2 separate regions of the Homo sapiens genome follow, and region 2 is linked to region 1. The links are contacts of gene promoters, found by promoter capture Hi-C in human tissues and cell types (Jung and others, 2019). All regions are on one chromosome and are shown on one strand. The core of a region is centred on a gene start or on the middle of the fragment in contact, and the rest is flanking DNA. Distances in the headings are between cores, read along the strand shown. Region 1 holds the start of FOXA2 (forkhead box A2). Region 2 has its middle 140 kb from the start of LINC00261.

The links. Contacts are between HindIII fragments. The study calls those that stand out against the background at their distance.
Region 2: a fragment that was not itself captured here is called in contact with the fragment with the promoter of FOXA2 in region 1 in 1 of the 25 tissues and cell types used here (thymus).

What each region holds. Positions count from the first base shown.
Region 1 is chr20:22,581,712-22,589,407 of GRCh38, forward strand. It overlaps FOXA2 (forkhead box A2), which reads right to left and starts at 2,861. Exons shown (of 2, transcript NM_021784.5): 1 at 2,481-2,861; 2 at 1-1,443. The coding sequence starts at 2,567. The coding sequence ends at 139. LNCNEF (lncRNA neighboring enhancer of FOXA2) reads right to left here. Exons shown (of 3, transcript NR_109883.1): 2 at 7,481-7,696; 3 at 5,811-6,077. RefSeq lists enhancers at 322-893, 894-1,466, 2,891-3,646, 4,402-5,157, 5,158-5,912. The HindIII fragment of the contact is 10,630 bases long and covers 1-4,539 here.
Region 2 is chr20:22,429,950-22,437,645 of GRCh38, forward strand. No RefSeq gene overlaps it. Among named protein-coding and RNA genes, the nearest start is that of LINC00261, 140 kb to the right of the region's middle. RefSeq lists an enhancer at 863-1,007 and a cis regulatory region at 930-941. The HindIII fragment of the contact is 3,938 bases long and covers 585-4,522 here.

The DNA.
Region 1 (7,696 bases), core at 1,611-4,110:
TGGGGTGGGGGTGTTATGGATTTCTTCTCCCTTGCGTCTCTGCAACACCGTCTCCCCAAAGTCTCGACCCCCACTTGCTCTCTCACTTGTCCTCGATCCGGGGTGCCAGAGTTAGCCGGGCCTGAAGCCGTCGTCTTCTTAAGAGGAGTTCATAATGGGCCGGGAGTACACCCCCTGGTAGTAGGAGGTATCTGCGGCCAGGGGCGAGGCGTCCAGGCCCGTTTTGTTCGTGACCGGGCCCATGGCCAAGCTGCCAGGCATGGGGGAACCGTAGCCGGGGTAGTGCATCACCTGTTCGTAGGCCTTGAGGTCCATTTTGTGGGGTTGGTGGTGGTGGTGGCTGTGGTGGTGCTGCTGCTCCGAGGACATGAGGTTGTTGATGGAGAACGGGTGGTTGAAGGCGTAGTGGTGTTCCGGCTTCAGGTGGGCCTCAGGCGGCAGGCCCGGGTGGTGGGGCGGGCCCAGCAGGTGGGCCGCGGCCTGCTGCTGCTGCCCGGGAGAGGGCGCCGGCTCTGGGGGGCTCAGCGCCGCAGCCGGCGTCCCCTTCAGCTCTCCCAGGCCCCCTCGCTTGTGCTCCTGGCACGGGGAGGCGCTCGAGTGAGGCGACTCGGTGCCCGCCGGAGTCTCGGAGGCCGGCCCGGCGGCCTCCCCGAGTTGAGCCTGTGAGGCCTGGGCTCCGGCGGCCGCCTTCTTGCCGCTGCCGGCGGCGCCTGCGGCCTCCTTCAGCGCCAGCTGCTTCTCGCACTTGAAGCGCTTCTGGCGGCGCAGGTAGCAGCCGTTCTCGAACATGTTGCCCGAGTCAGGGTGCAGGGTCCAGAAGGAGCCCTTGCCGGGCTTGTCGGGCGAGCGGGGCACCTTCAGGAAACAGTCGTTGAAGGAGAGCGAGTGGCGGATGGAGTTCTGCCAGCGCTGCTGGTTCTGCCGGTAGAAGGGGAAGAGGTCCATGATCCACTGGTAGATCTCGCTCAGCGTCAGCATCTTGTTGGGGCTCTGCTGGATGGCCATGGTGATGAGCGAGATGTACGAGTAGGGCGGCTTTGCGTGCGTGTAGCTGCGCCTGTAGGTCTTGGGGTCGCGGGCGCGGCTCAGGCCCGCCTGCCCGTACATGGGGCTCATGGAGTTCATGTTGGCGTAGGGGGCCAGGCCGCCCATGGCCCCGGCCGCCTGCCCCCCGAGCGGGCTCAGGCTGGGACTCAAGTGCGGCCCCATGCCCGCCACGCCGGCCGCCCCGGCCGAGCCGCCCATGCCCGCCATGGCGCCCGCGCCGGGGGACATCCCCGCCAGGGACGGGCTCATGCCAGCGCCCACGTACGACGACATGTTCATGGAGCCCGCGCTCATGTTGCCCGAGCCGCTGCCCATGGCGGCCGCCGACATGCTCATGTACGTGTTCATGCCGTTCATCCCCAGGCCGGCGTTCATGTTGCTCACGGAGGAGTAGCCCTGCGGACAGAGCCCCGGGAGGGAGGCGACAGCGTTAGCACCGCGGCTGGAGGGTGCCCAGACCTCCCACCCACCGCCCAGGCCTCCGCGTCCGGGGAGGCCTCCGGGGAGCCCTTTCGTCCCCGATGGCCCAGTCTCCGGACTCCGAGTCTGTTTCATTCAGGGAGAGTCATGATCGATCGCCCTTGGGAAGGTGGCGAGCGGATTGCTGCTTGGGCATGTGGCCCGTTCCTAGCCCTTCTCCACCTCGCCCAGATTCTAGAACAGGGGTCCCATGGAGTACTCCCAAGCCAGCACCCCAAATACATTCCCCTACCCCAGAGTCTCCCCAAACTCTCCCACCAGCATACTGAGCTGGCGCCGAGGCCCGAAGTCCCCGGACGCCACCTCCGGTCGCAGCAAGCAACCTGCGGGACAACGCGCGGGGCGCCTCGGGCTGCCTCCAGCGAAGACTGTCCCGGGCCCCCTCTGTCCGGTCTCCCTCCAGGGACCCCCTCCCTTGTCCCAGGGAAACTGCAAGGCAGTGCCTGTGCGGAGTGCGGGGGCGGCTGGAGGCACTGAACGGGGCAATAGGGAAAGAACCGAGACCTGAACCACACGCGGCTGAGCTTTGCAGGCAAAAACTTTCTTTCTCTTTGTCCACTAGTCTTTGACTCTGCCTCCACTTCAGCCCCCAACTCCTACCCATCTTCTCCTCCTCAGCTCCCCACCCCCTCGCCGGCCGACCTCCCACCCCTCCCCAGCCGCGCGCTGCCAAACATAACTCTGTTAGGATAGTGCGTGGCTCGGCCACGAAGAGGATTTGGAGGCGCCGCAAGTCAATATTTGATCACAAAGTTAATATTATCTCAAGGCTAACAGTGTGTCGTATAAAAAAGAGACCCATTTGATTCCAAGGAGGGCGGAAAAGGCGGCTGCCCAGAAAGGCTGGGGTTGTGGGGCGGGGTGGGGGGGTGCCAGCGAGGGAAGCGGTCCTGAGGTTGGGGAAGGAGCGAGCGCCGCCGCTCCACTTCCCCCTGGAAAAGACGAGCGCTTACCTCGGGCTCTGCATAGTAGCTGCTCCAGTCGGACGGCTCGTGCCCTTCCATCTTCACCGCTCCCAGCATACTGGAAGCCGAGTGCATGGCAGTTTAAAATTTAACAGCCACAACAAACGACCAGCAATCACCCCCCACCCCCACCCTCTTTTAAAAAAAAGTCAGCCAAAGCACCGTCCCCTCCTCCCTCCCTCTCTCGCGCTCCCTCTCCCTGGGCTCCACTCCCTCTCTCTCCCTGGGCAGGCCGGAGGCGGTAGTTGGAAGTGGGCGGGAGGTGGGGGGGGGCGAGGAGCGGAGGAGGCCCAGGCCAGCGCCCCGCGGTAGGGAGCACCCGCCGCCGCCGCGCTCACGGGCTGCCGGGTGGCGGCTGAGGTTGGCAGTGCCGAGCTGCCCCGAGGCGGCGGGAAGCGCGCGGCGCGGGGGCTAGTGGGGGGGTGGGGAGGAGGAGGAGGAAGGAGGAGGAGGAGGCGGTGGTGGTGGTGGAGGAGGAGGAGGAGGAGGAGGAGGAGGAGGAGGAGGAGGAGGTGTGGACCGCGGAGCGGACAAGTGCCGCAGTGACGTGGGAGGCTGGTGATATAGCGCGGCGCGCTGGCGCGGGCCTCCAATCCCCAGACCCGGGGCAGCCCATTTGAATAATCAGCTCACACCTAGGTGAGAGGTAGCCGCAGCCGGCGCTCCGCACCTGCCCCTCAGCGCCTGCCGTCCGCCCCACCGCCGCGGCGCCCCGCACTCCTGGGCGGGCCAGGGGAGCGGGCTGGGCGGGCGATCGGGCACGCGGGATCCCTGGTCGAGCCCCCTTTCCTCCCGGGTCCACAGCGAGTCCCCTGAGGAAGGAGGGACCTGGGAGGAAACCACCCTCTGGGGCGGCTCCGGCCTCCAGCCCCCGCCCCGTCTCATCGCGCCGGGCGCCCGGTGCGCCTGTCGGAGGGCGCGTCCAGCCTCAGTGCCCGGCAGATCCCTATGAAAGCCGGATTTATTTATGCCGGGTTTCTTCGCTCTCAGTGCTCATTCTCTGTCAAAACAGCAAGTCCATGACAGCCAATTTGCAAAGCGCTGTCCTATTTAGAAAAACTACGTACACACCTTTAACTCGCCCGCTGCTGCTCCTGCGAGGCCCCTCCCTGTTACAGTTCAGACCCGGAACGGCCTCGGGAGAAGCGCGGGGCGCACGGTCTGGCCGCCTCGGCTCTCCGACTCCTCAGACACCGGCCGCCAGGGACCCGCAGTGGGGCGGCCGGCGCCTGGCGCAAGCAGCCCCTCTAGCAGCGGCCGACGGTTGGGAGGCTGAGATTTGTCTCTGATATTCAGGCCGGCGTGTTTCAAGGTTACTTTTCAGTCACAACCGAGGTGCCCACAGCATTTCGTAACTAAAACAAACAGGGCAGGAGGTGGGGAGGGAGGGGTGAGGAGAGAAGAATCCAGGAATCAATGATGGGGCATATGGAGTTGACTTCAAGAGCGTCTCTGTCCTCTCTGTCTTCCAGAGGGACTGCTTAATAGAAATTAGAAACTCCAGCAATCGTATACTTTTATTTCCCCAGCAGCTCTTGGGTTCAAAAATTGTCTTCTGTTCTGGGTTAGCCTGTGAGCCCAGATTTGGAGTGGGGGGATATTGCAGGTGTTTGGATGTGGAGGCTCTTTCTTGGTTCTGAAAACCTGGCTGGACCTTGGGGATCCAGCCCTGTACCCACCCCCTCAGACACAGAGAATGCATAGGAACTAGTGGGCATCCAGCCCACCTGTCCAAAATTGGGGGCGATGGTGGCAGAAGACAGGCGAGATGGCAGACACGGAGCTTCGCATTGAAGCTTGAGTAAGGGTGAGGCTGGAAGGCAAGCGAGGAGGTAGCAGTAGGCACAGGGGAACCACTTCCCTAACCCCAGGACTCTCAGGTCTGCACGGTTTGGGACACAGAAGGAAGCCGCCGGCAGCATCTTTTGCTGCTGAAATGCAGATGGTTTGGACACTTCATAAAGAGGGCATTAATAAGCCCGCCGAGTGAGCGCCAGGGCGGGATTCTCCCACAAATTCAAGGTCTGTATCTCCGCGGAAGCCGTGCCTATCGGTCCCCCGAGTGCTGAAGGCTCCCACGAGGGGCAGGCCAGCCCGGTGCGCCAGGGAAGGAGCTTGATGGTGTGTACGGCTACGTAGTGAACGTGGAGGTGTGCGCAGCGGAGTCAGAGGGGCTAGATCCCCAGCATTTCCCACGGGGTCCCACCTAGCGCGTGGATGGGAGCAACTTCATCACTCCACCGAGGGCAGGGAAAGAGGAGTAAGCATTGGAGCTCAAAGAATGAGCAATTTTTCAAAGCTTTCTCCGCAGGCCTGGGCAGACACACACGCACACACACACACACCGCACCCCCAAAACTCAAAAGAATGTTATGGTTGACCTAGTCTGTGCGTGTGCTGTATGAGAGTATTTGTGAGCTTATGTGGGTGCCCACTTCCCTTTCTATTTTGCTCCTGGGTGGAAATTTGGTCCCAGAAATTATTCCAGGAACAGAAGGAGCGAGCTGGAGGGCCGCAGGAGAAGGGGGCGCTACACTTCCAAGGAGCGGACTTTGGAAGCCCCCACCTCCACCACAGCACTATTGGTGGCCGGGGTCAGGGACACCAGAGAGCGCTCGGCGGGGGCTTCCACAGTGACAGGGCGCCCCCTGTCGGCCGCCAGGCCCGCGGGACCGACCCGAGTCCTCATTTACCCCCGCGATCCCAACCCCGCAGCTCCGGCACCGGAGCACCTTCTCCCCCGCTCTCCCAGTCTCTCCGAAAACGCCTTCGGGGGGACTCGGCCTTTTTGGAGCCCCAACCCCTAGGTTCTGCGCGAACCCAAAACGGCCTCCTGCACCCTGGCGAGGTTCTGGGAGCTCCGGTAGGGTAGGGCTGGATGACGCCTCCTAGAGTCTCGGAGCAGCCGCTCCCGCACCCTCCCGGCACGCCTGCCCATGGGAATGCGAGCGGGGTCTACGGTTAGCTTTAGGTAGCTGGGAGCGGGACACCAACGGGCTGCGAAGGAAGCAGGGACGTTCAGACAGCCTGGGGTTCGCGTTCCCTTCCAGCTCAGCGGTCTTTGGAGCTCCTCCTTCCCGGAGTTCTGATTTCTAAAGGGCTATCCAGAGTTCTGGCTCAGGCTTGAATGCTGAAGATTGCTCCCGGAGTTTCTCTCCAGGAAAAAGTTCGCGGGGACCTCGGGCTGCAGATGTTTCTCCCAATCCCTCTTTAGTCTACCCTCATGTAGGGCCGAGACCTACAGAGCCCTTCCCTTTCCATTTTGTTAGGTCACCGCCGGCTTCTATAATAAAGCTGCTTTATAACTGAGGACTGTGCTTGGGGTTAGCATGCTATTTTTATTTTGGATGTTGCCTCAATGGCAAAGTCATAAGACTCGAGTTCAAATCCAGGCCTCCTCTGCTCTCCCTGGGAAGAAAACACCCAGGCCATCCAGGTCTCCTAGGCCTTCATCTTGCTGGAACAATCTGCGTTCCCCTAGCAAAAGTCCTCCCTAGAGCTCTCTTTGTCACATGAAACCAACCAGTGCAGAAGGGGCATCATTGAACAGAACTCAATTTTCCTAAGTGAGAACCCATGAAATACCTAAGGAGAAAAACAATAAAAGTCCCATTAATACTCCAATTCCTAAAACCTTTCAGAGAATAAATACCCAGGCAAGGCCTTGCTCAAAGTTCCCCAGCGTGTTTAGGGCAACATAAGGCAGATATGTAGGCAAGATGAAGGCAGAGGGGATGGAAAAGTGACAGCACAGTCTTGGGAAAGTATGCATTTTTACTTTCTTATAAACTTTTTAATTGGTAAAAAAGCAGATGTCCAAACACCCCTTATTCATTCTCTGGATGAATCTCAAGTCTCAATGAAGAAAAGGCATATCGTGTGTCAAAGATTATAATCAACATTTCACTTTCTTTGGGTGGGTTATTATTTCTGAAATGTACTGAAAAATCAGCCAGGCGCAATGGCTCATGCCTGTAATCCCAGCACTTTGGGAGGCCGGGGCGGGCGGATCACCTTAGGTCAGGAGTTCAAGACCAGCCTGACAAACATGGTGAAAACCCATCTTTATTAAAAATACGAAATTAACAGGATGTGGTGGCCCATGCCTATAATCCCAGCTACTTCGGGGGCTGAGGCAGGAGAATCGCTTGAACCCGGGAGGCAGAGGTTGCAGTAAGCTGAGATCGCACCATTGCACTCCAGCCTGGGCAACAAGAGCAAAACTCAATCTCAAAAAAAAAAAAAAAAAAAAAATTAGACCATCAAAATTTGTCTACTTGGCACTGAGCACACCTTCAAACACTTATGTTGGCTTTCAAAGTTCTTGGATGGTCAAAAGACCAGTTGTTTACGGAGAGGGCAATTGAAAAGGTCATTAGCTAAGAACACCTTATCAGAGGGTATTTATGTAAAAGAATAAAAAAATTCAGCATGTTGCAGCCTTCAGCAAAGGCTCAGGAAAATGCTGATAAAGGGGGAGGCAAGGTGCAACATTTTAAGTTTAATACTGTGTGCACCTGCATGCAATTTATCTCTCCACCGCAAGATCCACAGGAAAAGATGAAACATACATTTTTAAAATGAGAAAATAAAATGAATTAAATAAATACGATGTTAGTAACCTTGATTATGTTTGGGTGGTAGAATTATATCTTCAATCTATGTTTTTAGAAGTATGGGTGGTATCATTTTATATCACTACTTTATTATTACATTCTCTTTTACTATTTTATGGTGAAATATGTAATAAGGATATTGGATCTGATGTTAAGGAAACTTTGGCAAAATAACTTGTGCAAATATTCATTCAGTTCTCATCCTTGAAAGGAGATCAGAGAAGCCACCATACAAACTGACGACAGGTTTGAGTTCTGAAAAACAAGGCATTATTATTTTGTCTTACTGGTATCAGGGGATGAACTGTGATTTTCCCTGAGTTGAGAGAGGAAGAGAAGAAATATTCATGTCAACCACAGGTATTGACTTACCAGGGTGGTTTCTGCATATTGTTTAGGGGAAGGAGACAGACTCTGTCCTCTGGGTGGGGTGCCTTTAAGATGGATCTGGCACACAGATCTCTTGCTTTATGCATGTAGAATTTGATCGTTGTGCCGAAGGTTGGGTTTCAGTTATGGATTGTCCATCTTTTATGGGACTTCTCAGTGGATGGATTGAGCAGTTGCGGATTCCACTCCCATCTGTGG
Region 2 (7,696 bases), core at 1,304-3,803, 150 kb before region 1:
AAGAGACTTTCTGGCATTGTTGGCAATAAAGGAATAAAATGGCCCTGCTGGGTTTGCGTATGCACACACAGGGCACTTATCTGTGAAGACTGTGAAAAAAGAAAGAAGCAAAGAAAGAAATCAACAAGATTTGATGGGGAAGCTTGCAAAGGAGATCAGAATTCAGATCAAATGTCCCACCCCAGTGTCTCTGGAGTTTTTTTTCTTTTGTGTCCCAGCTAAAGGCACTGGGAGGATCAGAGACCTCATCCCAGCTCTGTTTACTTTGGGAACAATCGTTGGTGTATGAATAATAATGCCTCCCTCTGACCATGACTAATTGAATTGCAGCCTGCGGGCAGTGGGGAGGGGCTTTGCCGGGCCAGTCCATCACGGCGTTTCTCAAGTAGCCACCGACAGTGATGGATGCAGCGGCGCTTCCCAGAGTGCATCCTCGAACACCTAAGAGCAGGGGTATGAACCTGCATTCCGAGTTTCTATTAGCCGGGGCCTGGCAGAGAGGACGGGAATGGCGGCAGTTAAAGATGAGTTGGTTGATTAAAAGGAAGAGGAGAGGCAGCCCTTTTCCTAACCTCCTCCTCCCACACCTGATTTTAAGCAAGTTTTGTTCATGGGGACAAATGAGAAAATATTCATCGTGTGACCATGCAGGCCTCAGTGGGGCCACCTCTGCTGAGGCCGTGCCTGTTAAAAGTACTGGGCTTGTTTGGGGTGCAGTGGGAACCCTGGCTTGGAAAACAAAAAAGGCAAAACAGCCAAAGATTTGTCCTGTTAGAGGATGTTTAGAAGCCAACAAATGAGGTAGAAGAGGAGACAGAAAGACAAGAGAGAAGTAGGGGCAGTTGGAAACGGAGTCTATGGCCATGTCTATAATCCAACAATGGATCACACAGGGACCCTAACATTTGGTCGTCCTGTTGTCTGCGCTGTGTTTACACAGCAGAACCATGCAGCTGGGGCCCTGGGCTCAGTCGGACTTTGTTCTCACAGCATGAAGGTGACCCCTGGTGAACTGCGATCCGGGAAGCTTGTGCAGCCCAGCAGTCTCTATGGTGGTCTGGACACAGGGGAAGTCGTCCAATTACAGGGTCACTGCTTTCTATCTCAGTCGGATTTAGTCCGGGCCAAACCCCAGATTGGCACCTTTTTATGAGAGCTGTGCACGCCACCCTGGCTCCTTTTGGTGGCAGAGGCTGGCTGAAACTCCAGGCGGATTTTGGAGGCAGATGCTGGCTTTAAGGGAGCTTTGGTTGGCCTGCTCCTCTTGGAAAGCCCTGATAAAAGCATTCGGGGCAGGGGCTATACTTCTCTTGTATCTAAAATCCTGAAATTTTAAATCCCTCCAAACAGTTTCTTATAACTTTTTTGTTAGCTTACTATGCTTTAAAAATTATCCATAGGTCTTAGTACCAACAGTCATTTTACTGCACAGAAGTTTCTCAGCTCCCTTCTCTTATTTAAGAATGAGATACTCTCTGCCCATTCTGAACTTTACAGGAATAACTCAGGGTGTCTTGTTCTTATAAATAAAAAATTTTTAAAAAATCTTCTAATATGTTTCTATTTTATCTATCAATCCATTGATCTATATGTTTATTTATCCATCTGATTATCTATCTATCTATTTATCTATCTATCTATCTATCTATCTATCTATCTATCTATCTATCTATCTAATCTATCTGCTTTCCTACTTATCTTGGTGAATAAAATAAAGCCAGGAAAGAAAGGCAGGTGTGTTAAGGGAGCCGTCTATTCCTCTGGCATGAGTAGGGTGCAGGATGTAGTATCATGCAGCTGGTATTATGAGCTGTTGGAGGCAATTTCAAATCGATGCATAAAAATTATCTCCCCAGTATGTCCTGAATCCTAACCCCACTTGACCAAATGAACAATAAGACATTCAAGCAAAATAAGTAGTTTCCTGGTGCCTGTACCAAATGTGAAATATTTTCAACCCCTCAAATCCAGGCCGTTATAGCATTTTAGTCTCTGGTTTTCAACCCCCAGCCCAACCTACTAAACAAACATTGTGACCACCCTGGCGTGGGCCACACTCCTGGGGTTAAGATATTCCACCTAAAATCCCTTCAGTCTCTTTGAGCTGATATTCATGGACACTATTCTTGTGCTTTGAATACAAAACAAAGGGAGATGGAGCTGGCTTAGCTGCTGCAAAAGTGAGGGGAAGGAATGGTAAGAAGATGCATTTATGCCTGCAATTTGTCTTTAGAAAATAAATATTTCAAACATTTACTCAGAAACCAGGTTTTACTGTTTGTTATGAAGCAGCAGGATTTATTAAGAGAAAGCAGAAATCAGTGTAATTTATGGAAAGATGGCTGAAGACAGCCTATGTGGGCCCTGAAGCTGACCAAATTCTAATAGTCACCCTCCTTGGGTTCAGATGCATGGAGGAAAGCTGCGTCTTGAAATTGAGGGGGCTTTGAGTAGGACCACCACATAGTATCTTCACCACCCCAATAACCCTATTATAACTTCGTGCTTTGAATCTAGATGGCATCTGTACATCCCCACTCCTGCATTGCATTGAAATAAGGCTTGAAGGAGTATTTAAGAAGAAATTGATCAGGATACAGGGTGGAGAGTGCTAGGGAGGAAGGTAGGGTGTTCCAAGAAGAGGGCAGAGAGTAACTCAAAGAGAGAACAAGAATCAAAGGTATATTCCTATTCCTGCACAGTTGTCACTGGGGCCAGCCTGCAAAGCTGAGAGCAAGACTGATATCCTTCTACCAACTCTTAGTGGTCTAGCAGATGAAACCAAGTTAGAAATAGAACAATATTTTTCTGTAAAAGTGAATTCTTGTTAGTTACTTGAGATAACAGTGAAAGAATGACACTTTAATCTCTATGCTTCCTGTGGGCTATGCTCTAAGCACTTCCAATCTTCCACGTTCATGTTAATCCTCCCAACAATCTTGGAAGTGGATGTTATCATTTCCACTTTAGGCAATCAAGGCACAGAGAGGTCAAGTATATGCCAGGTGGTCTGTCCTCTAACAACCCAGGGGGCTGTCCTCAGGACTCTGGATGCAACCGTAACGGGGACACATTGCCCTCTGACCACTGGGATGGGTGCCTGAAGTTTCTGAAAATATTCCTCAAACTTGAAATACACTCAAACTAGAGAGTATTTAGTGGCTAGCAGAATTTGAATACAGCAAAATGGATAAAAACTTTTTTTTTAAAACTAACTAGTAATATTCAAATGGTCATATCCTTTTCACTTAGTAATTCTACTTCTGTGTGTTCCTTCTATTGAAAAACATGCAATTTTGCAAAGATCTGTTCAACCACAGTCATTGCAGTTTTATATGAGAGAGCAATGTTCCAGACTTTCTTGAAACACCACAAATGCCCTTCCAAAGAGGATCGTTGAGATAAACTATTTCATATGCTAGATATCTGCTAAAAGTACCAAGATTCATGCACTTAGCCTAAAATAGAAAATTCTCCATGATATTTTAAGTGAATAAAGAACCATAGAGAAACATCCCCATTTTATAAAATAATAATCACATAGGGCTATCCATGGAAAACATTCTGAAAGCAAATTCTCCAGTCAGTCAGTTATGGTCACCTCTGGGGTTGGGATCAGGGAAATATCCACTGTCTATGCTATACTTTATTCTGTAAATCTTTATTTCTTAATGAATATGTACTGTTAACAGAAAAAAAAGGAATGCAAAAGTTGTTGCTTAGCTCAGAAAATACCCAGTTGATCACCGCTGTCATCTAGCAATCGTATTTTTAAAAAACCATGTGCTGTGAGGTTATATAAGTTAGGTTCTTAATAGAATTTTTCTTATTATTCAAGAGGTTAATCATACCTGTTACCATGTATTCTGACAGCTGTTTCTGAGCCCTCTTTCCCGCTGCTCTAATGTCTATATTTTAGTAAAGTCTATTTTCAATATGAGTTCCATATTTCTGACCTATTCTCTAAAATTTGTTTGGAACCCCCACATCTTCATTCATGCCTTTTTGCACCCATTCACAGACATGCATAGTGTGGCAAAAATTTGAGTCATCCAAAGTACCTATTCTCAGATGAGGTGGAACAAGCTCCCATTCTGCCTTCCTGTTTTAGCTCTCAGACTATATATGAGTGTTCTTCTGTAGTCCATTCAGTGACATGATTTTTTTTTTACATTTTTGTGCTTTTTAATGGTAATTTTACTATTGAAAATGGCCCTCAAACATGGTGCTGAAGTACTGGCTATTGTCCCTAAGCCTGGGAAAGCTGGGATGCACCTTACAGAGAAAACAAGATGTGTTAGACAAGCTTTCTTCAAACTGCTGTTTGCTATGACTTCATGGTAAATGAATCAACCCTATATAGGAAATAAGGTGTCTTCTTATTTAAGTAAGTGGAAACACTCATAATACAATGTATGGATCCATTGTGGAAATGTTGTGACCAGAGGCTTGCAGGAACTTAACTCTATATTTCCTTTAGGAGCAGTGGGTTGCTAATACAGTGTTTGCAGCAACTTCATAGAACATAACTAGAGTGAATGAGGGAAACGGACTGTACTTTAGTCTGGGCGGCATGATCACAAGCAGGGAGTTCGGAGCTTAAGTCCTACCCCAGTGCTTTTGTGGCCCTGACCGTCACACTCCAGGGGTGCTAAGCCAGAATCTAAACAGCCACAGGCTGGCCAGTGGTAGCTGCTGAGAGTGCTCCTGCTATCTACACCTCCGCCAATGCCAGAAGCTTTGCCAAACAGCACACTGGGAGTCAGAGGTGGGATTCTGTTGATGACGTCAGTGGTACTCAAGATACGAGAAAATGTAGAGATGGTCGACCTCCCTGGAGGGTCTGTTAGCCTAGCAAAGCCCATTTCCATGCTCTTAGGAGTGGTTCCCAAATTAAGCTGGTGTCAGGCATTCACAGAAGGATTTCTGGGTGCCTGGGCAGGCTCTCGGGATGACAGAAGCCCCTGGAACACTGTCATGCCTGCCTCGAGGGCTGCACCCTGTGGCACAGAGAGAACTGAGGCATTTCTGGCCACACCACAGCCTTGGCAATCTGTCTTCCCATCCCCCATGCAACAGATCTGAAGTTAGTGAAATAAAATTAAAAAGGCAAAAAGTGTCTTTCCAAAAGTCCTAAGACCTATGTAACTAGTTAACCAGAAAAAGTCTGGGATTACTGTTAAGAAGTAAAGATGAGTTTGCTGGGATATATACAGTACTTTTCACCCACTACCCACATCCTAATGTAACATCAATTTACTTTTCTCTCCCACAATAGAAGCATATGTATTCATTTAGATACAAATTATATAAATGTATATAAAATTGCTATCATTCATATATTTAAAATCAAATAACCCAATCTTAACTAATTGCCTAAAAAGAAAAAGAAAACTTGTTGCTAAAGGAAAATTCAAATTATAATTCTCATTACCGATGAATACTTGAGTTGGCATCTAAATTCAGAAACTTGCATGGATTTCCAACGACTCTCAGTGGCTTCATTTGCCTTTCCTCTCTAGTCTCTGCTACCACTAATGAAAATCGAGCCTCTTTTCATAAAAATCCCATCTGTCCACTCCCACTCCGGCTCCTGTTTTTGGCTCAGTCAGATCAACTTGGGGTATGGTGGCAGCCTGTGGGGGAAGCTGTGATGTGCTCTCTCATCCGCTTTCAAGGGAGGACATGTTGCTCTGGCTGCTGGAGGGCCCTTCAGGGAAGCCTCAGCTGCCTGGAGCCCCTGGCCTCAGGTCATAGCTTCCCACATCCAACGACTGGTGGCCGTGAATGACCTCAAGCCTGGACATCTTGGCCAACTCAGAATGACCTTCAAGGACCCTCCCAGCTCCGAGACTAGCGCTAGCTTGTGCCAATCTTTGCCCCATTCATATTTTTACTTATTTTTCTTCTCCCATTATTTGCAAAAAAACCAAAAGAAATATTGAATTTTGAGGATGATAAAGAACCTAAGTGGCAGTGATTTTCCCCTACCTCTTAGAACGAGTCACATGCACTGAATTCCTGGCAGTGTCTTTCCTGCTCTGTCTTTGGAAAGCCAGCAAGTCTCCCTGAGGAAGACTATTTCCAATAAGGGCTGAATCTCCCTTTGTTGAATATTTGGATCACTGGGCCACTACCTGATATGACAGAGAGTATATTTGAATGAATGAATTCTTTGGGTCTCTTTCTTCTAATTTTTTTAGAAATCCATCCACTTTACTGACATGGGAATAGACAGCAAGTGCATACCCTGCTCTGTAAGTAAAGGGCCTCGGCTGGAATTTGCCCAGACAGTGACTCTGGTGCCTGTTCCTTTTTTCTGACATTTTGTCTGTTTTCTCCAATACTTGATTGAACAATTAGCTTTCTTTTTTTCCCCCTCTGATAGCTTTCATTTTCTATTTTGGACTGAAATATTTTTATATTATCTTTTTTATATTGGGCTAAACTTTATGACAGCTTAACATTTTATCTTAGAATTTTTTCACACTTTGAAATAATTTCTGCATTTATATTTCACTTAAATTCTACATTTAAATTTTGGTATCAATTATTTTCTACTGGATTAATTTTCCATAACAACGTATAAAATGTTTATAACACATTTAAATAAAACTTTATGGATCATTTATGATAAACAGTTAATGGTTATTACATAATGATTTGTGTTTTAATAAAAGTAATTGTCAATGTAAACTGGAGACCCAGCAATTTCATTCTGGTACCTTAAAAACAATAGACTATATGAACATCAAGCAGAACATTAAATATTGCCACTATAGCATTACTGATAAGGTTTCTTTTTTAAATTTTACACTTAAAAGTCCTCATCTCTGAGTTCATTGCTCACAGAATCTATTTAGAAGTACGGGTTATTTTAGATGTTATTAGATTAACAAGATTGATTGTTGTGCTAATTCTTTAAGTTAAAAGTAAAGTTATTTTACATCCATTGTCAGGACTGTTGTAATATACTGATTTCACGAGACCATGATATCTTATGGCTGCCTTCTAGAAAAATGTCATAACAAATATATAATTCACCTGTCCTGGGAGTCAAGAATGTTAGAATAAAAATACGTAAAAAATCAACATGCAAAGTTGTTAGTGATGTAAAGTGTTGAGGCTTGGATGGGACATCTTTGCTTGGGTCACAGTTTCAGCAACCACACAGTGCCCGGCACCTGACAACCCCTCAGTATCATCACAGTGTCACTGATCAAATTATGAAAGAGTATTCTTTTCTTTTTTTCCCCTCTTTTATTTTTAGTTGGCATGTAATAATCATACATACTTATGGGATAGAGAGGTATACTTCAATAGATGTATGCAATGTGTAATGACCAAATCAAAGTAATTAGTACATACATCACCTCAAATATTTCTTATTTTTTTTGTGTTAGGAATATCCAAAATCTTCTCTTTTTAAAAATATATAATAAATTACTGTTAATCACATTCCGCCTACAGTGCTACATAACACTAGAACCCATTCCTCCTAGTTAGTTGTAATTTTGTATCCTTTAACCAACCTTTCCCTATTCTCCCCTCCCCCTGAACCTTCTCAGGCTATAATAACCTCACTTCTATGGAGTGTTCTTTACTCACTTGCAAAATATGACATGTTTGCAAGACTGTGTGGCACAGAGTAAACACTCAATAAAGGTTAGTTTCTTTTTTGACTTTTCATTGGAGA